7 separate regions of the Homo sapiens genome follow, and all the other regions are linked to region 7. Evidence: promoter capture Hi-C in 16 types of primary human blood cells and fetal thymus (Javierre and others, 2016). All regions are on one chromosome and are shown on one strand. The core of a region is centred on a gene start or on the middle of the fragment in contact, and the rest is flanking DNA. Distances in the headings are between cores, read along the strand shown. Region 1 overlaps NUP205 (nucleoporin 205). Region 2 overlaps LOC124901750 (a long non-coding RNA gene). Region 3 overlaps CALD1 (caldesmon 1). Region 4 overlaps NUP205 (nucleoporin 205). Region 5 overlaps LOC124901750 (a long non-coding RNA gene). Region 6 overlaps CALD1 (caldesmon 1). Region 7 holds the start of WDR91 (WD repeat domain 91).

Region 1 (3,706 bases), core at 43-2,542, 360 kb before region 7:
AGTTCTACCTTTTTTTTTGAGATGGAGTCTCACTCTGTCACCTAGGCTGGAGTGCAGTGGCGTGATCTCACTGCAACCTCTGCCGCCTAGGTTCAAGCAATTCTCCTGCCTTAGCCTCCTGAGTAGTTAGGATTACAGGCACTTGCCATAGCACCCAGCTAATTTTTGTATTTTTAGTAGCGATGGCATTTCACCATGTTGACCACGCTGGTCTTGAACTCCTGACCTCGTGATCCACCTGCCTTGGCCTCCCAAAGTGGTGGGATTACAGGTGTGAGCCACCACGCCTGGCTAAGTTTCACTTTTTTTTTAAGAGTACTTTGCCTATAGTTTCAGTTTCATTTCCTAAAGCTTTCTTTTCCCCTTACTGCAACTACTCCTCCACTCTACTCCTTTCTGTTCCCCAAATTCATCACCTTGCTTCACCCTCTTGCACAGGCAATTTCTTCTGCCTGGATGCCCTTCATCCTCCCAAATAACCACCTATTCCACCTGATGTATGCTTACTCATTTTGCAACATCTACCTTAAACTTCATGATGTTGTTAAGAGTTCTCTGTACAATCAAGGTCCATCTAATACCATCTCTAAATCTCTGGACCATCTCTAAATCTTGCACAAAACTGCATTAATTGTACTTAATTGTGTCAAAATATTTGTTTCCACATCATTCTCAATTATTAGAATATGAGCGTATTTACACTAGTTGAGATTTTATTCATCTTTATATCACTGGAGTGATATAATTAACACCATGCCTGGCACATGGTAGGTATAGAAGAAATGTTTGTTAAATGAAAGTTCCGAGTTAAACTCAAAACTCAAGCATGTCTAGTGAACATCCCCCTCATTCTCAATATCATACTTCTTTTAGTGCAGGCTTAGGTCAAAAAGGATTTTGGTAGCCATATATTATCTTTAGACATATTAAACTTTTGTTCAACTAACATGCCCATATTTTCTTCAAATGGCTCCTCCATTATAATTAAAACAAACTGCTTATAGTATAGAAATTTTTCTCTCTTTTCTCTACACAGCAGCCAGAGAAATAATTTCAGAGTTAGAATGAATTATGTAATGTCTCTGCTTAAAGCCCTCATCAACAACTTTCTATTGCAATTAGAATAAAATCCAAATACCTTTCATTATCATGCAAAATCAAACATGCTCTGATTCCTGCTGTATCTGCATCTTCCTTTGCTCTCCCTCTCATTTATGATGCTCTAGCCACAATGATCTTTTTATCCTTAAACACGCCTTTATTCCCACCTCAAGCACTGGCTGCTTGCTCTCCCCGGAAAAGCCTTACCCAATAGGTCTGGGTGGCTGGCACCTTCTCATCATTTGGGTCTCAAGGCAAATGACACCATCTTAGAGAGGCCTTCTCTACGGATCCTACTTAGAGTTGCACTAGCCAGCCTCCACCTCTCTATATCTCACTGCTTTATTTTATTTTCTTCCTAGTACTCTGTATTATTGAAATCATCTTATTTTTTACCTACTCATGCATTATCTGAATTACTCTCTCAAAAAGAAATTCCAAAAAAGTGGTGACCTTACCTGCCTACTCACTGACAGTAAGTGCTTTGTGCTATAAAATTTCTGAGATGTCTTTAACAATTCTGATCACTAAACTGAAGCCTTCCTTCCAATCAAAGGTTAAGAAAGGATAGCCGGGCATGGTGGCACATGCCTGTAATCTCAACTACTCGGGAGGCTGAGACATGAGAATCACTTGAACCCGGTAAGTGGAGGTTGCAGTGAGCCGATATCATGCCACTGCACTCCAGCCTGGGCAACAGAGCGAGACTCTGTCTCAAAAAAAAACAACAAAGATTAAAAAAGGAAATATTTTGAATATGGTTTTACCAAACTGCAGCCTTAGAAACTATGATAGAATCTAAACAATAAACTATTTTAAACTATGAGTGATTTTATAATTTTGCATTATTTTACCACTGTTTCAGTTAAATGTCAACCTACCAGCAAGAAGAAGCTCAACAGCTGCCAATTCTCCAATATCAAAAAGGTCACTGAGAATAAAGGCTTCTTTAATGAGCTGTTCAGGAAGAAGTCGAGTTCCCTGTTGACCCTGAATGGCGACTCCCTCTGTACTGGCTTTCTGAACCTTCTCATGCTGTTGAACATTTTTTGGCTACAATGATAAAATTGTAATTGTTATGAAAATAGCACACTGGAGACAAGGTCCCAAAGTGTTACCTACAGAAGCTTATTCATGATAATTCAGCCTGGTAACATGACAAACAGAAGTATTTCTTATCAGCTAATTTAGAACAGACTTTTATGAAGTAATATTTTGCATAACCTTAAACTTTTTATTCCAATACTACCTTCTCAATAACTGTGACTGCTAAACTCTGATCTGAAAAATTTGGAGAAAATATACAAAATAGCATACTATTTTTCAAGTTTCTACAGAACTTTTCAATTACATAATAAATAAAAATAATAAGGTCTTCAAATGGTACATAACAAATGGATATATGAACTGTTTAATTACTTAGCAGAGCAAGTAACAGTTTATTAATGTTATATAAAATGTAGTCTTATTTCCTAAAAGATAATTTGGTGCAAATATTTAACATATGACGTACAGTACAGAATTAGCTGATAGATCATACATCTAAAGTTTCGGAACTTAAAGGTTACACATTGGTCATTGAATCTAGCTCCTCTATTGCAGACAGAAAAACCGACATCCAGCTAAGTCAGGTAACTTGTCTGTGGTCATAAAACTCTCTAGTGGTACAGCCAAGACTGGAAATCAGCTCAACTGGTTCCCAGGCTGGGGTTCTTTCTACTAAAGAAAGCAAAAAAAAAGAAAAAAAAAGAAAAAAAAAAAAAAGCTAAAAAGCAAAAAGCCATTTCTGGTAACACAATCCTATAAATAGTTCTTGGATGGCTTCCTTGCTGTATATAAAAGAAAAGTGCCAGACTGGGCGTGGTGGGTCATGCCTATAATCCTAGCACTTTGAGAGGCTGAAACAGGCAGATCACTTGAGGCCAGGAGTTCAAGACCAGCCTGGCGAACGTGGTGAAACCACGTCTCTAATACAAAAAAATTAGCTGGACATGGTGGCAGGCGCCTGTAATCCAGCTACTCTGGAGGCTGAGGAAGGAGGATTGCTTGAACACGGGAGGGAGGTTGCAGTGAGCCAAGATCGCACCGCTGCACTCCAGACTGGACGACAGAGTGAGACTCTGACACACAAACACATACACGCAAAGGAAAAGTGCCAAACAACAAGAAAAGCATTTTCCAAGTTTGAATCCCCTCCACTAAAGTACCCTATTGCTATTGCAAAGAATTTCAAGATGCAGAAATTAAAAATACTCAAGAATTAATTCATTCCATTAACACAACTTACATAATACTATAAACTACTATAAAATAATACTTAAAATTTTAACGTACATCTGGAAATAAACAAAATAATCAATCTTACCAAGCATAGATGTATTACTAACTAGAGGTCAGAAATTCTAAGGCAGTTAATATTTCTGGAATATACTAAATTTCTTAAATAGTCTTCAAATATTATTAAGTTTATCTCCTAGCTAGAAATAAACATAATATTAACTTCTATAGAGAATAACATTGCTCCTAAGAAAAATTCCATTAAAATCACAGCAGGGCACAGTGGCTCACGTCTATAATCCCAACACTTTTTGAGACCAAGGCAGGA
Region 2 (4,032 bases), core at 657-3,156, 510 kb after region 7:
TGGCTCCAGCACGCAGGCTTGTAGCCAGAATGTTCCACAATGCATAGATGCAATAAGAAAGCTGATCTAATAGCACAAGACAGGCGAGCATAACAATGTCGGGAAGACCCATGCAGAGGGCAGGGGAAAGGTTATCCTTGTGCTATTCTTGTAATTTTGTTCAACAAAATTGTCAGCATGTGGGCAGAAAAAGAGGCAAAGCCACACACTGTCTTAACCATTTGTAAGCACAGACTATATCACAAAGGGGATTAAAGCTCACATGGTCGGATTCTGGCCTCTCTCACTCCCTTCTCCTAACTCACAAGAAGAGTCAGGCAGCCTGGGCGGGACCGGACCTCTCATGGGCTCCAGCAGCCTGGAGTTCTTCTTCCCATGCTGCCTCTTCCCAACTGCATGGGTATTGTTTCTTCTGTAAATCGGGGAGAGGATTGTTCAACGGGATTACTGTGGGTGCTTTCCAACTCTGAAGTTGCAGGTGTGTCCCACCCTTGAGTGGCAGGGGTAGCTTTAGTGTAGCTTTCTATGCAGCTGAGGGGGACAGTAAATGCATGATCACATGCATTTTTACAGACTGGTTTTGGGTCGATTCATACCTCAAACTCCATGATGGAGAGAACTTTCATAGCCCTTGTAGCTCCTCTCAGCATCTAGAGCAGGATTCTGCTGGTGACAGGTATTTAGCAAATATGGCAGAGTGGCTGTTCCCAGGCCCAGAGCCACTTGCGGGTCCCCCAGAATCTTGATAAGACTCCTCCTTCCATAAAGCTTCTTCCCCACTCCTCCTATCCAAGACTGGATTTAGGGGGCTCAGGATTCTACAAACAAAGCTGAGTGACCCTGTGACCTTGTCATCTCACAGTGACTAGACAAGAAGATAGCCTATCTATCTCCCTGACTCCTGGGAGGCTGCTCCTCCTGGTCTTTATAGAGGCCTGGCTGGAGACAAACTATTGGCCATTTTGCTTCTTGCTTGTTTTGCCTTGGGTTTTTCACAGTTTTCTTGATAAAACAAAAGGTGTTCAGCCTCTTAAAGTTTTTGCCCAGTTCTTACCCTTGACAACAGCACCTCATCACCAATAGTCAGTAAATTTCATTTCTCCCATATCCATATTTCCCTTGCTTCCAGGGTAGGGGAATGGGTTTTGGCCCTGGTTTCATACAGCTGCAGAATGATTTCCAGAATGACGTCCCATGATGGCCATGTGAGAGGAAACAGGCACGAACTGCCACCTGGGAGTGATTTCTGGTGAGACATTTCATCTTCCATGGTGGCTGGCTTAACAGTCAGGCTGGTGAAAGCCAAAAGTTCATCCTCCAGGAATGTTCTGGAGGTTATGCCGCCTGGAGGTAAAGGGTTATTCTAAGCCAGTCTCAGAACTTTGGACCTTTGATGTCTAATTCAATGGTTAGAACATGGGCTAAATGCTTTTGATCCCTAGATGGGGCCAGTGAGCTTGGTTTAATTCAGTGGCCTAAAGCCCACCACTGACTATGTTGGTGAATTTCAGTGTAGTTATTCAACAGGAAGACCAAAAGGAGAGGCTTCACCTCAACTCCTCTCAAGCTGGTGTGCTATCCCAAAGCAATTTGAAATGCCGACATTGATTTGGCAATGATGTATATGAAGGAAGAGTTATGAAGCTCAGTATTAAAGACTGACGTTTCTACTTCTTCCATGCTTTCGTTATGTTAATGTCGCCTCCACATTACCTTCAGATGGAAAGAAAGAACATCACATGAATGGTCAACTACAAAAATTAACTATTTTCAGTCCTGGATTAGGTAAAAAATAATGTATATGGCAAATCATGAAGTTAAGTATTTTCCAAAAATATTTTTTACTGCCTTAACATACTGGAAAAGCAAAAGAATAAAGATGTTCTATTCAAGAATGTAAGTTTATAAATAAGTGGGGGAAAGAAAGGAACATGAGGCCGGGTGCAGTGGCTCACGCCTGTAATCCCAGCACTTTGGGAGGCCGAGGCGGGCGGATCACCTGAGGTCGGGAGTTCGAGACCAACCTGACCAACATGGTGAAAACCCGTCTCTACTAAAAATACAAAAATTAGCCGGGCGCAGTGGTGGGCACCTGTAATCCCAGCTACTTGGGAGGCTGAGACATGAGAATAGCTTGAACCCAGGAGGCGGAGGGTGCAGTGAGCCGAGATCATGCCATTGCACTCTAGCCTGGGCAACAGAGCGAGACTCCATTTCAAAACAAAACAAAACAAAACAAAACAAAATGCAAAAAAAGAAAGGAACATGATCAGGGAACTGGGAGGACCTGGGAGAGTGTGAGTCCACATGGATGAGGATCCAAGCTCAGAGAGGCCATGTTCTTTCCTAAGGTCACACAGCTTAGATAAGGGTTAAAATAAGAGAACATTTAACCCATTTATACCCGAGATTGCAATTTTTGAATTTTTGCAATCAGACCTTGGTGATGACCCTAAGCAGTAGGATATAAATAACTCCCACGTGCTCAGCGTTCCAGTAATGGAACACTAGGCATAAATGGGTTTTAAACAAGTAAAAAGAAAAACTCATTTTTCTGATTCCTAGTATAGTGCTTGTTCCTCTACATAATGTTGCTGTCTAGATTTTTTTTTTTAGATTGTTCATCCATTTTGGAAGCCTAATTGGCAACATAATGGAATTTTCTGAAATCCACAGAGAGAAAAAAAGAGCCAACTACATTCAGTTTTTTTTTGTTGGCTTGTTTTGTTGGAATGTATAAACAATTCACCAACAGACATCATTTCATAGTCTGAAAGGAGTGGAGAATTAAAGAGATTTTGTGCTCAACCTCTCAGTAGAGGAAAGCCCTGTGACATCAATGCACAAGGCTATGGTTGAATTATTTTGGATTTGAGGTATGTGTGTGGGATTTGAGGCATGAAAAGAGGTAAGAGAGGAATTAAAAGGAATTGTTGCTTTCTGGAGAGCCCCGAGTTCAGATACAATGACAGTGAGCTGATCTACGTCTCTTCTTATAAGGAAAATACCATCACTCAGCTACATTTCTGAGAAAGAGAAGCTTTCTGTCTAAAAGAGGACCACAATGAGTTTGTTGAGCTAAATGACTCTTTTGAAGGAATGTTGTAACAAGGAATGGCTAAACGTGATTTGAAATCAGCTGGGTTATTCAGAAAACTTGCCTATTTACATGAGCGCATCCAGCCATTCACGGTTGCCCACGTAGTGCAAATCCTTTTGCTTCTCCATCACTGGAACGCCTTTCCTTGGGGCGAGCCTCTTCTCAGCCTTCAGGAGCCAGCTCAAATTGCACCTAATAAAGTGTAGCCTTCTCATACTGGCCCAAGGCCAAACTCCTTTGTCAGCTTTGCATCTATACCTCAATATGGAATTTACCAAAATGATTCCTTTCTGCCTTTCCTTCTCCATTTGATCATCAACTCCTCAAGATTAAGGACAGGGTCATATTTATCTTTACACCCTAGTGCTTAATACAGTGCCTGTACATGTGATGGTTGATTTTATGTGTCAGTTTGGGGGCACAACAAACGTCATGCACTGTTGTTTGGTCAAACATCAGCCTAGATGTTGCAGAGAAGGTATTTTAAAAGATATAATTGATATTTAAGTGAGTTGACTTTGAGTAGATTACCATACATCATGTGGGTGACGCTCATCCAATCAGCTGGAGGCCTTAAGAGAAAAGACTGAGGCCCTACAAAGGGGAAGGAATTCTGCCTCCAGACTCAAGTCTGCAATGTCACCTCTTGCCAGAACTTCCAGCCTGCTGGTCTGGGCCTGCAAATTTCAGACTTGCAGTTCCCACACTTTCTTTTAAAATGAATCAATCTCTGTCTCTCTATCTTTCTGTCTCTCTCCATATATATGTATATGTCCAAATATATATGTGTATATATTGAATCAATATCTTGTTGATTCTGTTTCTCTGGAAAACATGGAGTAATACAGCACATGTTTAGTAAGAGTTTAGTGAACCACCAACTTAATAGCAAGGAAAAGGAAGACGGCAAGTAGGGCTGAAGGCTGGACGGG
Region 3 (3,987 bases), core at 870-3,369, 260 kb after region 7:
TAAACAAAGAGAAGCTGTGAAACAGCTGAAAGGAGGTGCTATGGTCCAACATTTATATGTTGAAACTGAGTCCTTGATGTGTTGGTATTAAGAGGTGAGACCTTTGGGTGGTAACTAGGTGATGAGGGTGAGGCCCTTGTGAATGGGACTAGTGCCCTTATAAAAGAGGCCTAAGGAAGCCTGTTTTCTCCCTTTCTCCTTCCACCATGTAAGGACACAGGGAGAAGGTGCCACCTATGAGGAATAGGCCCTCACTAGACACCACATCTGCTGGCACCTTGATCTTTGACTTTCCAGCCTCCAAAACTGTGAGTGATAAATTTTGAGATGGAATCTTGCTCTGTTGCCCAGGCTAGAGTGCAGTGGCATTATCTTAGCTCACTGCAACCTCTGCCTCCTGGGTTCAAGTGATTCTCCTGCCTAAGCCTCCCAAGTAGCTGAGATTATTACAGGTGTGTGCCACCACGTCCGGCTAGTTTTTGAATTTTTGGTAGAGATGGGGTTTCACCACGGTGGCCAGGCTGGTCTCGAACTCCTGACCTCAGGTGATCTGCCCACATCTGCCTCCCAAAGTGCTGGGATTACAGGCATGAGCCACCGTGCCTGGCCCCAGTCTAAAGTATTTTGTTATAGCAGCCTGAACAGATTAACTTGGAAGGATAGCAAAAAGATAAATGAACAAAGGCCCTGTATAATCAATAACTAAACAAGGGGCTAAAATCCAGTCTCTATCATATTCTAATAGAAGTTTTCTGGGGAAAAAAATACCTTGAGAGATGAACCTTTAGGAGTGAAACACTTGAATGGTTTCTTGTCATCTGACAAGCCATCTTCTGGCATCTTCTGGCGTTTCTCAGCAGCTTCTGCTCTTCGCCTTTCAATCTCTTCCTTTAGCCTCCTCTTCTCTTCCTAAGAGAGAAAGAACAAATAACGAGGCATCAGTACCAGCTTCACAGCCAAAGGGAAGAGTGCTGTAGGAGAGAGAGCACAGTTGGAGAGGCAGCAGACTCAGGCCGCAGGCTGGACACTCCCCTTCTAGGTGGTCACCAGAGGTTTAGCCTGAGAGCTGGAGTCGAGCTGCCTGCATTTGCATTCTGGTGCTGCTACTTTCCAACTGCCTGACCTTGGCCATGTTATTTATCTGCTCTGTGGCTCAGTTTCTTCATCTGTAAAACAGGGATAACAATAGTACTCATTTTTTAGGGCTTTCGTGAGGGCTCAGTGAGATAGCACATGTAAAATGCTTACACCAAACTTGTCCAACCCATGGCCCAGGGGCCACATCATGCCCAGGATGGCTTTGAATGTAGCCTAACACAAATTCGTAAACTTTCTTAAAACATTATGAGACCTTTTTGTGATTTTTTTTTTTTTTGGCTCATCAGCGATCATTAGTGTTAGTGTATTTTATGTGTGGCCCAAGGCAATTCTTCTTCCAATGTGACCCAGGGAAGCCAAAAGATTGGACACCCCTGGCTTAGACTAACACTCATTATGATGATTTCCCATAGGATGATACATAATCACCACCATCCTGTGGGTCATTAACAATGACCTCACACTTCTGTATATGTAAAAGGGATATGAATATTCCTTCTACCTACATCCTAGGAGAGTTGTGAAGACAAATGAATAACTTATGTGAAAAGCTATCTAAATCTGTGGTACTATATTTGCCAGATGGTACAAGAGGTGATTTTATGGTTGCTCCCCGCTTCAAGTGAATATATAATTTTAGATGGTTTGACAAACCTGAAATGCTCTAGACGTTGAACCATGGTAGTGCAATTGCAAATGTTTACAGACTGTCTCATTAACCCCTCTGTGTCTTCATTCCTAGTCTAGAATACTCTGTCTTCTCTATCAGGGCTCTGATCAAGTTGCACAACTTGATTTTCTGAGAGATTTAATGCAGTCTTTGGTAGTTCTTAAGCTGTGAGATCATTATCACTGCATGTTCTCAAGCAGAGACTAGATGTTCATCTGTCAGAGGATGTCACAGAAGGATCCTGTGTTTGGTAGTTTAGCCCAAATAATCTCCTAGGTCCAATCCAGTTCTAAGACTTCGTGATTTCTCTTCAGCCTTTCCTGATACTCTCCTCCTCTGAATAATAATCATAATAACAATGATGGCAATAATGATACCTACTAATTTTTGAGTGCCTAGAATGTGCCAGGCACTGGGAGCACAATGATCTATTAAATTATTGGAAGAATCCTGCAAAGTAGATATTATTTCACAGATAAGGAAAAGAAGACACAGAGTAGTCCAGTTTTCCCAAGGCCCCAGCTTGTTAGTGACAGAGTTAGGATAGAAGACTGGGTGTGTTCCGAGATTGCACCACTGCATTCCTGCACTCCAGCCTGGGTGACAGAGCAAGACTATGTCTAAAAAAACAATAAAAAAAAAAAAGCCTGGGGTGTGTTTAACCCCCAAACTCTATCATCCTGATTACTTCCCATACTTCCCAACCAAAGGTCATTGGCTCATTGAAAGTTGGAGTTAAAAGAGACCTCAAAATAATGTATCCAAATTTTCCATACAGTTCAGGAAAATTTTGCATAGGATCCTTGTCAAAATGCCATTGAAAGTCTTTTTTTTTCTTCATATTTTGAATGATGGGAGATCGCTATCTCAAAAGCTCTGGGCTCTGAGTTGGAAAAGCGGGGTCTCCTTACTGATTCTACCATTTATTAGTCAAGAATCTTCAAATAAGTCACTCAAACTATTTGATTCCTGGTTTCTTTGCCCATAAAATGAGAACGATGTACCTCAGGATGAAATGAAAGAATGCACTTTGTAAACTGTAGTACTGTAAGTTGTAGTTGGTTAAACATTATTTCATATGCTGAGCCAAAATGTTCCTCCTTGTAACTCTATCTGCTGTTTTTAGCTCTGTCTTAAAAGATGAAACAAATCCATCTGTTTATAATGATGGGGCTCTTCCTGCATGTCAGGCACGGTATGGGGTCCTGGGTATACAGTAATGAACAACGCAGATACTGTCCCTGCCTCTTTATATTCTAATGTACTTACTTGCTCATTAAAAAAAAAAAAAGATTTAAAAAAATCTTCTCTATAAAAACTCTCCAACTATTAGAAAACCATAACTTCATTCTGGTAACTAATTTGCAGACCTTTCATCCTTTTCAGCTTTCTAACTTTTCCTTTTTGAGAGGCAGTAAAGGGTTTTAATGATGGGGCTCCTCCTGCATGTCAGGCAGACTCAAGGGAGACCTTGGGAAAGTTACAAACAAAAACAAAAACAAAAACAAAACCTCTCTGTGCCTCAGTTTTCTCATCTGTAAAATGGGGATTAGTACCTAGGTCAGCGAGTTCTTAGAAGCAGTGGACAAATTAATACATCTACAAGTTATAAAACAGTACCTAGCACATGGTAAGTTTATTATTCTTAAAAAAATATTTTTGAGAGCCCATGCTCAAAAGAACAGCCGCACGGCACTAGGGAATTTTCCCGGGCAACGTTCTCAGTGGGCTAGCGCCCGCCTTACCTCCTCTCTGAGTTTTCGATCGGCTTCCTCCTGCTTCCTCCTCTGCTCTTCCTCCTCCAGGACCTTCCTTCTCTCCTCCCTCTTTTTCTTGAGTTCCTCCAGCTCCAAAGCCGCCTCCTGCTGCTTCTGTTTGAGCTTCTCGAACTCTTCGCTCTCGGTCTCCCCGCGACGACGACGAAGCTCCTCCAGCCTTTTGCCGGCTTCCACCTGGGGGGCGCCCTCAGCCTCCTTGGTGTCCACGCTGGCCCTCCCTCCAGGGCGGCTGTGGTTGGGGGGCAATGGAAAGGGGTTTACATGCTTTTGCCTGTAGTCTCCCTGGAGGAAGGGGAGGTCGGTCTGCGGCTTCTGCATCCCCGACTAAATACCCACTGCCTCTCATTAGCCCAGGGGGTAGGCTGGGGAAGGGGTCTGCCCGGAATCACAGAGTCCAGGAGCCTCTGCTCTTCCACTTGTGCTTCGTTTCCTCAGCTGTAA
Region 4 (4,069 bases), core at 671-3,170, 440 kb before region 7:
GCCAGATGCAGTGGCTCATGCCTGTAATCCCAGCACTTTGGGAGGCTGAGGCAGGCAGATCCCTTGAGGCCAGGAGTTTGAGACCAGCCTGGCCAACATGGTGAAACCCCGTCTCTACTAAAAATACATTAGCTGGGCATGGTAGCACACGCCTGTAATCTAGCTACTCGGGAGGCGCAGGCAGGAAAGTCACTTGAGTCCGGGAGGTGGAGGTTGCAGTGAGCCACGATCATGCCACTGCACTCCAGCCTGGGTGACAGAGTAAGACCCTATCACCAAAAAAAAAAAAAAAAAAAAAACCACAAAACCCAAAAACCAACGCTTGGAAGCCATAGAAGTTTTATTGTAAGCATTTAAAAACAACAACAACAACACTAGGCTGGGCGCGGAGACTCACGCCTGTAATCCCAGCACTTTGGGAGGCCAAGGTGAGCGAATCACAAGGTCAGGAGATTGAGACCATCCTGGCCAACATGGTGAAACCCCGTGTCTACTAAAAATACAAAAATTAGCTGGGTGTGGTGGCGCACACCTGGAGTCCCAGCTACTCGGGAGGCTGAGGCAGAAGAATCGCTTGAACCTGGAAGGCAGAGGTTGTGCTGAATCGAGATCATGCCACTGTACTCCAGCCTGGTGACAGAGCAAGACTCTTTCTCAAAAACAAAACAAAAAACAAAACAAAACAAAAAAACACTATGACACTATAGAATAATTATCAATTTTATTCTATAGTGTTATAGCGTTTATTCTGTTACTAAATGAAAGCAAAGACTTCCTCTCAGCAGTCTCTCCTATGTATTAGGCTGAAGTAATTGCTGTCTGGAAAAGGAAATTTGCAGTTTCGGATGATGTAGTTACTTGAACATGAAAACAACTGGGTAAGAAATAGAGTGGTGATCATGTAAATGTTTTGTCCTAGTGATAGCCATCATATTAATTATATGAGAAATATTGGCAGATGATTAATTTGAGAAATTTCACAATCATTTCTAAGGAACAAACACAAATTACTGTAGAGTCAGCTCTCCATATCCCCACGTTCAAAATCTGCAGATTCAACCAACCACAGATCACAAATATTTGGGGGGGAAAAAACCAGTGTAACAGCAAAAAATAATACAAATTTAAAAACGTAGTATTAACCACTATTTATATAGAATTCATATTATATTAGGTATTGTAAGTAATCTAGAAATGATTTAAAGTATACAAGAAGATGTATCTATATTATATGCAAACACAATGCCATTTTATATAAGGAACATGCATGCCAAAACATAGGTTTTGGTATCCGTGGGAGCCCTAGAACCAGTAATCACCAGATACCAAGGGACAATTGTATTGTCAACTTACGTGCAGAAAAGAAAAAAACAAAAAAAAGGAAAACCTAAATAATTTTAGGAAAAAGCTTGACTTTTTCAGACATTTTCACAGTATTGAGTACACTATTCTATAAGAGCATGGCTATATTTTAGTAACCCTGAATATTGTTAATAGTGTAATGTAGCTACAAAGGGTGAAAAAATTAGAATTTTCAGACTATGCCTTTAATCTGGCATTCAGAATAATATCTCTATGGGAAAATCACCACTGTTGAAGGTTTATTTGTTAGATTCCTGATAATGCTGATCAAAAGATAAAAGATCAAAAGATTAACCATACATTTGTTTTGTTTTTTTAAAAAGTATTTATTTTTTACTAGTGAGGATGGAACTAGGGGAAGAAGTTTACAGAAAAGATGTCCATATACAAAGAAAGAAATAGCAAAATATTTTTGGTCATAATTTAGAAAGAAACTAATCTATAAAATGGAGACAATTCTCCCCAATTCATCTCTCTCATAGAAGAGCATAAGCACGGGCTCTCAGTTCCTTGATATCCTCAAGAGGCCACGGATACGTCTGACAAGAGCCTGTATGAAACTATATCGAGATCGAACTTTTGAATATAATCCTTCAATGTCCAGAAGTTTCTTTTGTAGTGATTCTCCAAAAGCGTTGATTGCATCAGCCTGAAGCTAGCGGTGACACAAAAGACATTTTGTTAAAATTGTTGTCTCAAATATTTCTTTTATTCTAAGTCTTCCAATTTAAAACACTTTAGAATTTTTGTAATGTGGTTCTTTCAATGTAAATACTTTTGAATTTTTGTAATGTGTTACTAAATTAACTAAACATTCACATTTTCTACCTTAGAATTTTTTGGTTTAATTCTCATGTTTTTCCTGCTTTCTTTTCTTGTATAAATTTAAAAACCTGCTTTAAATAGCAATGAATGTTGATGCTGATGCTGATATACTAACATACACACAAAAACATTTCCTGAAGGGCCATACAAGAAGTCAGTAAGACTGGCGGGGGAGGGAGGGAAGGAGAATGCAGGGAAGGAAGGGAGGGAGGGAGGACAGGAGGGTAGGTGGGAAAGAAGCTTTTACTTTTTACTTCATTTTGCAATTTTTAAAAACCCACTTGCATGCTTTTGTTTTCAAAAAATATTAATGTGGGGATACACCTGTTATATGCTTTAGAATTCATATATATTCTAGAATGCATATGTAGTTTCAGATGGATCTTTTTGATGTTATACTAAAAGACTAAAATTAAGTACAATATTAGATCAATCTACCTGTTTTCAGTTTTGCATTAAAATCACAACACAGAGTGTGAGATTATTTATTAATCCTGCATTTTTTTCTAGCTTTTTCACAAAGCAGTCTAAATGAAATAGTAACAGTTATTACTTCAAAATATATTTATTTTTGTTGTCCTAGCTACTCAGGATGCTGAGGCGGGAGAATCACTTGAGCCCAGGGGGTTGAGGCTGCAGTGAACTGTGGTCACACCACTGCATGCCAGCCTGGGTAATGGAGTGAGACCTTGTCTCTCAGACAAAACAAACAAACAAACAAACTTCTGAATAATCTTCTTTGGCTAATTTTGCACATGGCCTCAATTAACACTAGTTCTCCTAAACAAGCCTAGCCACAAAACGAATTCCTTTTATAAAGTCACTAAGGGGCGAATGTAGTCTGGATTGGGATGGGAGCGTGGTATTCATGATATCCAGCAAGCTGTGCTTTGGAGGCTGCTGTAACTGCACCTTTCATTCCCAACCTTGTTTTAAGAAAAATAGCAAAAAGAGGGATTTGGGAGGAGCAGAGGCTTTATCAAATCATGGCTAAGGACATTCAGATGGCTAGCAGAGGATCTAGCTGTAATTCATTTTCCCTAACATCACACACCCTGATACCTGCTTTGTTAGAAACATAACTTTGCTATTAGTTTAATATGAGGTTTTCATTGTAATTGTTTTTGGCATACTCTTCATTCATTCTAACACTACTGATCAACAGGTTAGTAAGAGCACAGTGTTGTGTACTATGGTCTATGACGGCGGGATTTGTATTGGCTGCTCTCAATCTCACCATTAAATTATTTCCTGAAAAATAAGTGCTGAGTGATACTTTGTACCTAAAAAGTTCTACAAAGCTAATCAAAAGACATCAGGAGTTTCCAGATCATAATGCCTACCAATCACGGAATGCTTACCATGTTCTAGGTACAACACTAGCAGCCTCACATACATGAAACCTCACTTAATTCTGACAAAACCCTCTGAGGTTGAATCCTCCTATTTCTTAGATGAAGCAATTGAGGCTCGGAAGTTAAGTAAGTTGTTCAAAGTCATATAGCTGTTAAAATGGTCAAGCTAGAGTTCAAACCAGGTGTCTGTAAGCAACCCTGAAAATCATAATCTTATTAACATACCAGGCTTTCCTTTTTACTTACTTACTTACATTCATTCATTTATTTATTTATTTATTGGAGACAAGGTCTTGCTTCACTCTTTCATTCATTTATTGGAGACAAGGTCTTGCTCTGTTGCCCAGGCTGGAGTGCAGTGGTGCAATCACAGCTCACTGCAGCCTCAGTCTCCCAGGCTCAGGTGATTCTCCCACCTCAGCCTCCCAGGTAGCTGTGACTACAGGTGCATGCCACCACAGTATGCCAATTTTTTTTTTTAAGAGACGGGGTCTCACTATGTTGCCCAGACTGCTCTCAAACTCCTG
Region 5 (3,836 bases), core at 281-2,780, 490 kb after region 7:
AAATGTTTTAAGAGGCAATAGTGGCAGAAAGAACATTGGACTAGCTTCAGACCTTAGTTCTAACATTTGTGAGCTGTAGGATATTGGGGAAAATAATGTCCTTATACCTCAGTTTCTTCATTTGCAAAATGGAGATAATACTCTATAGTGTACACAGTAGTCATGAGGCTAGCATGGGTGAGAACCACTGATAGGTTCCCAGTAAAAGGTAATTATTTCATTCAACTTGACTCAAAAATTTATTTGGCAAGTGTTATTCATCTAGGTATGACATCTAAGCAATAGTGACAATATTTTGGGGAAATAAAAACTCCAGAAACAGTTGTCAAGAACTGCTAAGGGTCTTAGATTTTACCCTTCTTGAAAACTAGCAACCAGTATAAGACATGAGACTTCTGGGTCAGAGACAAAGAATTTTATTATTCACAACAACAGCAGTAGCCAACGTCTTCTGATTGCAACAGAAATTTGTACAGTAATTTACTCTAATTTTAAAACAGCTGAGGCCAGGTTTTATGCATTTTTAATGCATAACAAGCCTTTTATAAATCATCTGTATTTTACTACTTGTCTCTGCTCCCATCTCAGATACATCATTATATGAAACATTTTTTTCCCATTAAATAAACACATGTATACAAATAAATATAAGTATGTAATTTATAGCAGTTGAGTTTAGTGATTAAAAACTCAGGTTCAGAAGTCAACCTGCCTCGGCTCAAATCCCAGCTTAACCACCACAGAGTGACCTTGGGCAAGCTATTTAACTTCTCTGTGCCTTTTTGTCATGTCTGTAAAATGGAGATAATAACAGTGTCTACTTCATAAGATTGATGAGTGGATAGAATGTTATAATCCATGTAAAGTGCTTATGACATCAAGCTTACAATAAATGGTAGCTATTATTAATAGTGTAAATTCACACAATCCTTTGGATTTCATCTTCTTTCCCAAGAGGAGGATTTAAAAAAATGTTTTCAATCTAGAACTTAGGGTTTCAGAATAAATCCACAGGCACTTATAAAAAAACTGCTCTCCCATTTTTCTTCTCTTACCATGAACCAACTTTAGATTGATTCTGTGTTTAAAAACAAAAGGGAAAAAGAAAAATAGGTACCAAATGAAAATTCTACCTTCTGGAAGCATTCACATAGTTAGTATTGTTTTTTTTCCATGACAAGAAGAATGTTCTTTTATCTAGAAACCATCTATATTGCTAGCATTTTCTCTTTGTTTTAGCTGTAGTCCAAGCAAGTTATTTACTAAGAAGCTAAAAATCGGAAATATATGTCTCCATATTTATGTTTTCTTAGTCATTTGTTTTTTAATTCTTGAAATCTCCAAAGGCAATTGGCACACACAAAAAAATCCTGGGGCTTAAGGAAAATGTTTACCAATCCATTAAACATATACAAGCCCTGGTTATAATAATTGTGCCTTCTTTCAAGTGGAGCTGGCAGGGCCTTCCCTATCATGGAGTCAAACTCCTCACTTTGACTTTATGGACCCGGAGCCTGAGCACAGGGAGGCGGGCGAATGCTCCAGTCTGAGCAGCCAAGTGCAGCTGGATTCCAGTGCTTTCTCTGCATCACACCATTCCTTCTGCCTGGCCACCTTCTATCCCCTTATTTTCCTTCATTCTCAGGATCAAAGCAGGTACATTTAGTTGGTATTGCATGAAATGCGATGTGTTGAATGAAACTGAAATGTGTTCCGATTTCATTCCTGGTGCTTTCTTGGCCATTGTAAGCAAGGTACCAAGGTCACTCTGCTTTTCCAATTGGGCTTTTTCAGCTTATTAAAACTACAGTGGTCCTTTGGGTGGTGACACCATTATGTATGGCACTGTTATGGCAGATACATGACATTATACATTTGTCAAAACACATAGACCTATGCAACACAGAATGAACCCTACCCTAAACCATGGATTTTAGTTCATAATAGCATTATTGGTTTTGATTAATCAGTTTTAACAAGTGTACCACACTAATGTCAGATGTTAACACTAGGGGAAACTGTGTGTGTTGAGGTGGGGGAAAGAGACGGAACTCACTGTACTTTCTGCTCAATTATTCTGTAAAAATATACCGTCCTAAAAATTAAATATATTATAGACAGATAGATAGATGATAGATAGATAGACAGAGTCTAAGATAAGTATATATATAAAGCTTCAGTGGTCAAACCTTGTTATATTTGAGAGATAGTATGGTAATGGAGCTTGTTTACCAACAACAATAACCACAAAAAATCGAAGACCAGTGATTTCTTATCTCATTTGGCATTGGTCTTTGGTGTGAAAAAGGTAAATTCTAGAACTCACTATTCACATAATCCATATCACACATCAAAGTCTACAGTATAAATACTATTCCTTAATAAAACTGATAATTTGCAAGGCATGGTGCAATGTAGTTTTGAAAGATGCTGTCATCTTTTTAATAACTAGCTCACATCCACTCTACCTGCCATGAATATTTGAACTCACTTTGGTCATGGTGTTGACATGAACCCTTCTGGCTGAGTTTTTTCCCTGACATTGTTTTCACTCTGTCCATTTATATTTTTGCTTATATTTTTGCCAATTTATTTGATGGTGTGTTAAAAACTGATTCAAACATCTAAAAGTTTCTTCTTCTGTCATGTACATTTCAAGAGTTTAGAAAATAATAAATCTTTCTCATATTTGCCTGCATGGACTTACAATACAAAAGCAAGCAACACAGAGTCTTGTCCACTGGAGCTATCAAAATTTCACAAAATTTCAGCCTTTTAATTGATTCATTAAACACACTGGGTGATAATTCTTGCATCTGAGCTAGTATCTTATGAGACAGTGAGAGTGGTTGAATTTTTATAGTAGCCAGTTGCATTGTTTAAACAGATGGTTTAACAAAACTACCCCTGATGGTACATTCCATTTTCCCTCAGAGTACATCTACTTAGAGTCATGCTGAATGTGACTTTTTATTGTAAGATTTAATTTTAGTTCATATTCCGTTTTCTAGGTACAGTAAGTTCAAGACACACTGTAAGATACCAATAACCTTATTTTTATTCTCACTATATTCTGTTTCAAAATACCATTGTATGGCTGCAGCAGACCAGCATGGCACATGTATACATATGTAACTAACCTGCACATTGTGCACATGTACCCTAAAACTTAAAGTATAATAATAATAATAATAAAACAAAATACCATTGTAACTTGGCAGGCATCGTAAAACTATTTTGCAAATTTTTACTGCATGAAGTACATCCAGTAACTTTTAGCTCCATAAAAGGTGAATCCCAATGACAAATAATTATTAATGTTTTCCTTGTCTCTGCATGACTTTATGAGAAAATTTTCCACACATGGCCTTCATTGACTGGCCTTCGACCTGGTCAGACTTGTCATTTTTATCTTGATACATTTCTTATTGTAAGCATAATTATCCCATTCCCACTTGTGGGGCAGAGGAAAATAAATATAAACATAAACTCTGTCTCATACACATATACATATATACGTATAAAATTTATAAACCTGAAGGCAAGAAAGTTTAATTCATTAAAACTACTACAATATGTTACTGCCATAAGACAATGCATAACATGTCCACTTGTATTGGATAACTGATTTTCACCCCAGAAGAGAGCACAATGCTGACCATATACACCCAAGCCCTACCCAGCAATTTAATGGAGCGTGGTCTTTCCCATGTTAATAGAGGGTGTATACTTGCAATAGTTTACTTTTGGGTACATGCACAGGCCCAAATTCAGGGACAGATTATAGCAGACCTACATGATCTGTTCAAAGACACAACTGTAAGACATTCAAATAT
Region 6 (3,931 bases), core at 274-2,773, 300 kb after region 7:
AAATCCCCTTGAGTTCAGAGCTGGAAAATGGATATTTTACTTACTAAGAAGACCAAGTGATTATGGACAGGAAAAGTATTTGACTTTTGAACCTAGTCAATGATCAGGTGCTAAAGTCAAACGGAGTCAACTGGTGTTTTCCAGTGAGACTGTGGACTTTGGCCTGCTTCAAGAGCGTGTGTGTGTGTGTGTGTACGTGTGTGCATGTGCCATCAGTCTTTTTTATTGTCATGTGATTGGCCTTGGCTTGGCTCATGAATAGAGCAGTTCTATATTTTCCTGCAACTCCAGCACATGCCTTTTTACCTCCATAACTCCTCCTGCACCATCTTCCCTTGCAAATTTCTTATATTCTTTCTCTTTTCACTATCAAGCCTAGTGTTAGTTTTGGCCTTTTGCAATGTCTGTGGGAAGCAAAAAGAACTCAGTACAACTAGGTAAACTGAGCATGTTTGATTTAGCAGTCCTTTGGAAATATTTTCATGTGCTGTAGCCAAAACTGGTTCTGAAATTCAATGGATAAGTCATTAATAGCCCAAAATAGTTAAATCCACCCTATCACGGGCTGTCTTGTCAGTTTACATTCAATTTTGGAGTTAGGTTTATCAGTTAGTTTAACCTACTTGGTAGTTGACCTAAAATCATCTTGAGATGGATCTCTACGGGGCTAGTGATTTTTAGTTCCAGACATCTTAATCACTTGACCAGTTGATCAAAATATCAAAAGAACAGTTCAGTTTCATTATTAAATATATCGGAACACTATATTGACTATATTCAATATTTTTGATCCAGGTATTAGTAGCCCTAACTCCAAAATGACATTGTGTTATGGGCTTGTGCTTTCTAAGCTGTCCTTTGAGACAAATTGTCCAATGTCCCTTTGTGCTCTCAATCTTACTTGATCCCACAGAGAGCTCTGACACTGTTGACCACATCTCCCTTTTTGAGATTCTCTGTTTTTAAATTTATTTTGTAGTTTCTTTTGTACCTTTTATTGGGTTTCTTCCTCAACTCCTTTCTTCTCCTATCCAACATATGCTCCTTGGATAATATCATCTATGTTTATAACTTGTCTGTCAGTTTTAAGGTGAGGATTCTCTAATTTATATTCCCAGCTCAGTCTGCACTTCCAAACGAAGTTCCTTTTTTTTTGAGACTGCGTTTTGCTCTTGTCACCCAGGCTCCCAGGCTGGAGTGCAATGGCGTGATCTTGGCTCACTGCAATTTCCACCTCACCGGTTCAGGCAATTCTCCTGCCTCAGCCTCCCAAGTAGGTGGGATTACAGGTGCCTGCCACCATGCCCAGCTAATTTTTGTATTTTTAGTAGAGACAGGGTTTCACTGTGTTGGCCAGGCTGGTCTCGAACTCCTGACCTCAGGTGATCCATCCACCTTGGCCTCCCAAAATGCTAGGATTACAGGCGTGAGCCACCACGCCCAGCCTTTGCACTCCTGAATTTCTAAATGGCCTTCTTCCTTGGTAATGAAATATCCAGTAAGGAAGCTGAGAGTAATGAGTAATTCTAGACACCTGATTAATCCAAAATTCTTTCAAAATTCAAAACTTCTCTCCATGCAGGCACTGCACTTCCATATCCTCTTACTTTTAAAAATTGATAATCTGAAAATTTTTTTTAAACTTCTCGATCATATCATCCTATCCTTGCTACAGCAATTTCACAATTCCAGGATGTGAAGTTGGCTTAATATTATAAGAAAAAGTAAAATAAGAGGCATGTATTAACTAAATTAAATATCAAGGGATGAATAACTTGCAGGGACACAGAGAAAATATAAAAAATCTCATCTCATTACTTATGACTTTGAAATGGATACTGTTTTCAACTACCTGGCAGAGTACTTCACTCCTTATATGCATGGAAAATAAAGTTTAAACAATACCCATGTGTCTAGAAGTTGATTTTGGTTGAAAGCACAATTCTCTACTGTTGAGTTTTAAACAACCGAACTGAATCTACCAACTTGGGAGGAAACCTGTCTAACTTGTTTCATATATATATATATATAGTATTTTCTTGAGAGGTTTCAAAATGTCAGGAAGAAAAACTGCCTGGCCCTTTACGGGGCCAGATGATCCAATAGAGGATGCATTTCAGAGTAGCAGTTGCTTCTCGAGGTCCTCAACCTCAGCTGCACATTAGAATTGCCTGGAGAAGTGCCTAAGAATCCTGATGCCCAGGCCATGCCCCAAATCAATTAAACCAGAATCCTGCTCGAGGTCTGATCTAGACATTAGAACTTTTGAAAGCTCCCCAAATGATTCCAGCCTGCAGCTCATGTGAGAAACACTGACGTATAATGAGTGACTTAAGAACACTGTGGACCAGATGCAGTTAAGTTAAAAGGCAGTGTCGAGTCATTCAGAAAATAGAGTGGAGAGAGGAGTCACTGGCAGGTATTTAGTGATCAGACAGGAAATAGATGAGCAACTCATCACTATGATCCTAAGTGCCAGGCTCTTTTTGTTTCTTTTATTATTTTAAAATTGGAGAATATAAATATTTACAAGCAAAAGTAGGTGTTACTTAATATTGTTGCATAGATAAATGTTTAAAACTTTTTAAACATGTGTTAAATATATCCAATGGTATATCCCTTGTTCTCTCCATGACTAAATTTGATCAAGTCCAGTATCACCTTCATCGCCTGGTGACCGAGAAGATTTTAACCTATATCCTCAACCTCTTTTAATGAAAACATCATGTAACCCCAAATTCCTATCTTTTTTCAACATAGATAAACTGTGTCAGCATGATATTCCTAAAGCTCAGTTAGAGATCTGTGAAAAAACAATTCTTAGCAGTCTGTTCTACAGAATTCAAACTGAAAAAAGAGAAAAAACCTAGGTCTGGAGCCAGCCAAACCAATGAGATACCTGCCAAACCACACCTTATCCTCTTTAATCAGCAAAAATATCATCCACCGCCTGACTCCCCTTCCCTCACCAATAGGCGCTTGTTCATTCCCTTATTAGGACACTGGCAGCGGCCAGAAGGATTGCTCGTGTCTGAGGGCCCACGAGTGGCTCCCACAACATGTGCAGTTCATCAAAAATGAAAAGGCGGGGGGGGACTGGAAAAATGAAATCCTCACTGTAGGGAGGAGAATCCATTTGGGGTAGGCCACAATTATGGTTTTGAAAACAATTTTTTTTTAAAGTCCAAACCAAAAAAACACAATCCTAATATTTTTTGTAAATGCATTTTTAGGAAGAATATGTTTGAAACTTAGAAATGCCATCAAGGAAATTTTACTTGCATGCTTCCAGGCAGTTGAATATATAATCAGGAAGCACCTAGTCTTACTTTTAAGAAGGGTTGGGCTTGGTTGGTCTATTCCAGTTCTAGGACCTGGGACAGACACCTGAACATAGAGTTGTAATGTGCTTTTTTTTTTTCTTTTTAACCTGGAGCAAAATAAAAGCTCTGTCCTCCCTTCTCTCTTTCTGCTTCTCCTCTGTTTACAGGGCTACTTTCTCTACTATGCTCTGATCTTAGTTCTTATCACCTTCTTCCTCTTCTCACAAGGTACCAACCAACAGTTAAACCTGGTTTTTTTATTTTCTATGATATCAGTGCAACTTCCAAGTCAAAATGAGACATCTCCCTGTTATGATCTGTGTCAGCAAGGCTGTCCCACTAATCCTATCCTGTTTCGTGGTAAGCTGTTTTCAGAGCCAACTCAGGAACTCAGGTCCATCCAAGCAAAGACAGATGGCAACTTTTTACAGAACACTTTCATCATGTATATGCGATCTAATTTGATCTTCGTAGTTATAGTATCTGTGAGACGGGCACTATTATTTCTATTTCATAGTTGAGGAAATTGGCTCAGAGGCGTTAGGTAACTTGTATTCAGAACCGGGACACCACTACAATTGTGGGCTTTTCTGACTGGTGGTGTTCTC
Region 7 (3,912 bases), core at 1,142-3,641:
CTGGAGGGTACACTTGTGGAGACAGGTAGGGCAAACAAAGAGGGCAGAACAAGGTCTGTCTCGTCCTGCTGTGGCTTGCCCTGTGCTATCTTTTTGGCTTTCTCTAGTGTAGATCAGAGCCCTTTTGGAGCTGAATTTCCATAGAGTAGGAGTGGAGGGTCTGAGCAGAGGGGCAGCAATGATTCTGAGTTGTATTTTGACAAACACGAAAAGTCATACCATTCGAGGGAAGGAGAAGGGAACACTCCATGCATTTTACCAATAGGCCATTCACTGTGCTAAGCGTTTTACATACACTGTCTTATTAAATCTTCATTACTACTGTGCAAGGTGGGTGTTATTGTCACCATTTTTTTTTTTTTGAGACGGAGTCTCGCTCTGTCGACCAGGCTGGAGTGAAGTGGCGCGATCTCGGCTCACTGCAAGCTCCGCCTCCCGGGCTTACGCCATTCTCCTGCCTCAGCCCCCCCGAGTAGCTGGGACTACAGGCGCCCGCCACCACGCCCGGCTAATTTTTTGTATTTTTAGTAGAGACGGGATTTCACCGTGTTAGCCAGGATGGTCTCGATCTCCTGACCTTGTGATCCGCCTGCCTCCGCCTCCCAAAGTGCTGGGATTACAGGCGTGAGCCACCGCGCCCGGCCTATTGTCACCATTCTGCAGAAGCAAGTCTCAAAGATATTGGCTATTTTCCTACTTACAAAAATACGTGCACCTTGTAAAAACTTCAACAATAAAAAGAAAGTAAAAAACAAGAAGTCCTTCATAGTCTCACCTCTCAGATAAAACCACTCCAATTGTCACTTGGTATCTGCAGGGGGTTGGTTTTAGGACCCTCCCTAGAAGACCAAAATCCATGGATGCCCTGATGTAAAAAGGCCTAGTATTTGCATCTAACCTATACACTTCCTCCTGTATACTTTAAATAATCTCTACATTGCTTATAATACTGAATACATTGTACATGTTATGTAAATTGTTGTTATGCTATATTTAATTTGTGTTTTTAAAAATTGTATTCTTTTTTAAACTGAGACGGTGTCCTGCTCTGTCACCCAGGCTGGAGTGCAGTGGTACAATCACAGCTCACTGCAGCCTCGACCTCCTGGGCTCAAGTGATCCTCCTGCCTCAGCCTCCCAAGTAGCTGGGACCACAGGCAGCACCACCACGCCCGGCTAATTTTTTTTTTTTTTTTTTTTTGAGACAGAGTTTCGCTCTTGTTGCCCAGGCTGGTATGCAATGGCGCGATTTCGGCTCACTGCAACCTCCACCTTCTGGGTTCAAGCGATTCTCCTGCTTCAGCCTCCCGAGTAGCTGGGATTACAGGCATGCGCCACAACGCCCGGCTAATCTTGTATTTTTAGTAGAGACGGGGTTTCTCCATGTTGGTCAGGCTGGTCTCAAACTCCCGACCTCAGGTGATCCGCCCACCTCGGCCTCCCAAAGTGCTGGGATTGCAGGCGTGAGCCACTGCGCTCCGCATTTTTTTTTTTTTTTTTTTTTTGTGGAGATGTGGTTTCGTCATGTTGTCCAGGCTGGTCTCCAACTCCTGGGGCCAAGAGATCCGCCTACCCTGGCCTCCCAAAATGTTAGGATTACAAGTGTGAGCCACTGCGCCCGGCTATTTTTTATTTTTAAAACTTTGGAAAAAATATTTTCAATCCTCGTTGGTTGAATCCGTGAATGCGGAACCCGAGGATGCAGAGACCCGACTGCATAGGAACTTGGTGTATAATCTTCCTGAATTTAAAAAATGTACACACATACATACCTAATTTTTTTTTCACAAGAAACCAGGACTATAGCGTACATACACTGCTATGAAATTTGCCTATCCTAGCAGTGCATCTTGGTTATCTTGCTGTGTAGCCAATTCGTCTTACTAATGAAAGCAGAGATTTGGGGGAGTTAGCGCTCTCTGAGGACACGCGTGTTGTGGCTTCACGCAGGTCACTCTGCTCTTAGGGCTCCAGCTTCCTCCGTGTAGGAGGAGGGCAGGGGACCGGGAGCTCTGCGATGTAACGCCAACCAACAGGGCGCCGCACCCCCTGCCCGCCTCGGGACTACCTGGGATGTTCTTAAGATCCAGTCTTGTTTGACGTGGGTGGCAGCCGCCACTTTCAGTAATTCAGACAAAGCCGCCGCCGGCGCCGCCAGGACCTCCCCTCGCCACTCCTCGGGAGGGGTAAGGGTGACTCGAGCGGCCAGGCGGGCTGGGGCTGGCTCAGGGGCGGGGCCTCGGGCGGGGAGCCGGCCGAGGGGCGGGGCCTCAGGCTGGTCGCCCAGTGCGTGCGGGCTGGTAGGCCTGTCGCGGCGTGACGTGCTCGGCGCCCGCGTCCGGCCCCGCCCCATTTCTCCCAGGCCCCGCCCCTCCGTCCCTCACCGCACCACCCCTAAAGACGCTAGCGCTGCGATGGCGGAGGCCGTGGAGCGCACTGACGAGCTGGTCCGGGAGTACCTGCTCTTCCGCGGGTTCACGCACACACTGCGGCAGCTGGACGCCGAGATCAAGGCGGACAAGGAGAAGGGGTTCCGGGTGAGAGGCCGGCGGGAGCGGCGCGGGCAGAGGCGGCCCGAGGGAGCCGGGGAGCGGGCTTCCCCCCAGCACTGCCTCCGGGGCGAGAGCGGCGCTGTCACTCGCGCCGGGGCGCCGGAGACCTCAGCGCGTCCGACCCCAGCTTGACGGATGAGGAACTGAGACCCTCAGACGGACAGGACCTGCCTGAAGCCGCCCCCCGAGTCAGGAGCATCGCCGAGGCTGGAGCCCCGATGCCCCGGCTCCTGGTCTAGGGTTCTGTCTCCACTCCAGCCTCCTTGGCCAGGATGGCGATGAGGTTTTAGGAGCCGAGGTTAGGTAGATGGTTGCGTTTTGGCAACAGATATTCGTGTTGGCTTCCAGTGGCAGTGGAAGCAAAGAAGTCTGCAGTCCAAAACGTTAGCTGCGTTCAAGTATCTGCGGTGTTTGTTTAAAATGGCCTCGTCAGGGACTCATCGGCAATTTTGCTTCTGCAGTTGTGGAAGACCTCATGGCACATTAGAGAAACCCAAACTTCCCCTGCTCTAAAATGATTTTCCATTGCGAGGTTCTTGGAATGTATATGTGTGTGATTTGTATGTTTGTGTGTACTGACTTCAATGAGAGGCAGTGAGCTAACAGCAAGAGCACTGGAGGGGAGTTAGGAGATCTGGTTTCCTGCCTGGCCAAAGTTAGTGGCTACTTAGTGGCAAAAGCAAATCATTTCACCCCTCTGGGCTTCAGTGGCCTGATCTATAAACTAGGGGCATTGGATTGGTATTGATATCCAAACCCTTTTCCAGATTCTGTACTCTGCTGTAATTGCTCCTCACAAGAAGGTGACTTCCTTGGCTGACACTCTGAGCAGCTACCACGGCTTCGTGGAACTTTGATGACTTGAAGGAGTCAGTCCATGCACCTCCTCATGATCCTTGGGATCTGGGAATTGTGGAGATTGTCTCATAGCTCTTCTTCACCCCACCCCCTTTTTTAAAAATGTGAGGTAACTGAAACTACAGTTAAGCAACACTGCCATTTTTTTTTCTTTTTTGACAGAAAGTCTCACTCTGTCGCTTAGGCTGGAGTGCAGTGGCACGATCTCAGCTCACTGCAACCTCTGCCTTCTGGGTTCAAGCGATTCTCCTGCCTCAGCCTCCCGAGTAGCTGGGATTACAGGCGCGTGCCACCACGTCCAGCTAATTTTTGTATTTTTAGTAGAGTCGGGGTTTCACCATGTTGGCAAGGCTGGTCTCGAACTCCTGACCTCAGGTGATCCATCCACCTCAGCCTCCCAAAATGCTGGGATTACAGGCGTGAGCCACGGTGCCTGGCCTGATGACACTGCCAAATTGATCAAGTAAGTCAGAGGCAGATCCAAGATCTGGAGCCAGATCTC

Evidence for each region. The method cuts DNA at HindIII sites, captures the fragments that hold promoters and counts their contacts. A CHiCAGO score of 5 or more calls a contact.
Region 1: a fragment that was not itself captured here is called in contact with the fragment with the promoter of WDR91 in region 7 in 1 of 17 cell types (naive CD4 T cells); the score reaches 5.5 in naive CD4 T cells.
Region 2: a fragment that was not itself captured here is called in contact with the fragment with the promoter of WDR91 in region 7 in 4 of 17 cell types (naive CD8 T cells, total CD8 T cells, activated CD4 T cells and 1 more); the score reaches 5.7 in naive CD8 T cells.
Region 3: a contact is called between a fragment that was not itself captured here and the fragment with the promoter of WDR91 in region 7, in 3 of 17 cell types (naive CD4 T cells, megakaryocytes and naive B cells). The highest score is 6.2, in naive CD4 T cells.
Region 4: a contact is called between a fragment that was not itself captured here and the fragment with the promoter of WDR91 in region 7, in 2 of 17 cell types (M1 macrophages and M0 macrophages). The highest score is 5.7, in M1 macrophages.
Region 5: a fragment that was not itself captured here is called in contact with the fragment with the promoter of WDR91 in region 7 in 1 of 17 cell types (naive CD4 T cells); the score reaches 7.7 in naive CD4 T cells.
Region 6: a fragment that was not itself captured here is called in contact with the fragment with the promoter of WDR91 in region 7 in 1 of 17 cell types (neutrophils); the score reaches 5.2 in neutrophils.

The regions. Positions count from the first base shown.
Region 1 is chr7:135,572,102-135,575,807 of GRCh38, reverse strand. It overlaps NUP205 (nucleoporin 205), which reads right to left. Exons shown (of 43, transcript NM_015135.3): 3 at 1,983-2,154. Among named protein-coding and RNA genes, the nearest start is that of NUP205, 16 kb to the right of the region's middle. The HindIII fragment of the contact is 1,877 bases long and covers 354-2,230 here.
Region 2 is chr7:134,698,870-134,702,901 of GRCh38, reverse strand. All of the region lies in intron 1 of LOC124901750 (a long non-coding RNA gene), which reads left to right. Among named protein-coding and RNA genes, the nearest start is that of BPGM, 54 kb to the right of the region's middle. RefSeq lists a silencer at 1-5. The HindIII fragment of the contact is 2,272 bases long and covers 771-3,042 here.
Region 3 is chr7:134,947,296-134,951,282 of GRCh38, reverse strand. CALD1 (caldesmon 1) reads right to left here. Exons shown (of 15, transcript NM_033138.4): 8 at 3,514-3,775; 9 at 769-909. Among named protein-coding and RNA genes, the nearest start is that of AGBL3, 37 kb to the left of the region's middle. The HindIII fragment of the contact is 7,816 bases long and covers 1-3,987 here.
Region 4 is chr7:135,646,352-135,650,420 of GRCh38, reverse strand. It overlaps NUP205 (nucleoporin 205), which reads right to left. Exons shown (of 43, transcript NM_015135.3): 43 at 1,668-2,017. The coding sequence ends at 1,865. Among named protein-coding and RNA genes, the nearest start is that of STMP1, 14 kb to the left of the region's middle. The HindIII fragment of the contact is 1,019 bases long and covers 1,411-2,429 here.
Region 5 is chr7:134,715,316-134,719,151 of GRCh38, reverse strand. All of the region lies in intron 1 of LOC124901750 (a long non-coding RNA gene), which reads left to right. It also overlaps a transcript of CALD1 not described here. Among named protein-coding and RNA genes, the nearest start is that of CALD1, 62 kb to the left of the region's middle. The HindIII fragment of the contact is 1,292 bases long and covers 885-2,176 here.
Region 6 is chr7:134,906,916-134,910,846 of GRCh38, reverse strand. All of the region lies in intron 3 of CALD1 (caldesmon 1), which reads right to left. Among named protein-coding and RNA genes, the nearest start is that of AGBL3, 78 kb to the left of the region's middle. RefSeq lists silencers at 2,287-2,336, 2,347-2,396. The HindIII fragment of the contact is 5,578 bases long and covers 1-3,931 here.
Region 7 is chr7:135,210,005-135,213,916 of GRCh38, reverse strand. It overlaps WDR91 (WD repeat domain 91), which reads left to right and starts at 2,391. Exons shown (of 15, transcript NM_014149.4): 1 at 2,391-2,537. The coding sequence starts at 2,415. RefSeq lists a silencer at 2,149-2,688 and an enhancer at 3,859-3,912. The HindIII fragment of the contact is 4,223 bases long and covers 1-3,912 here.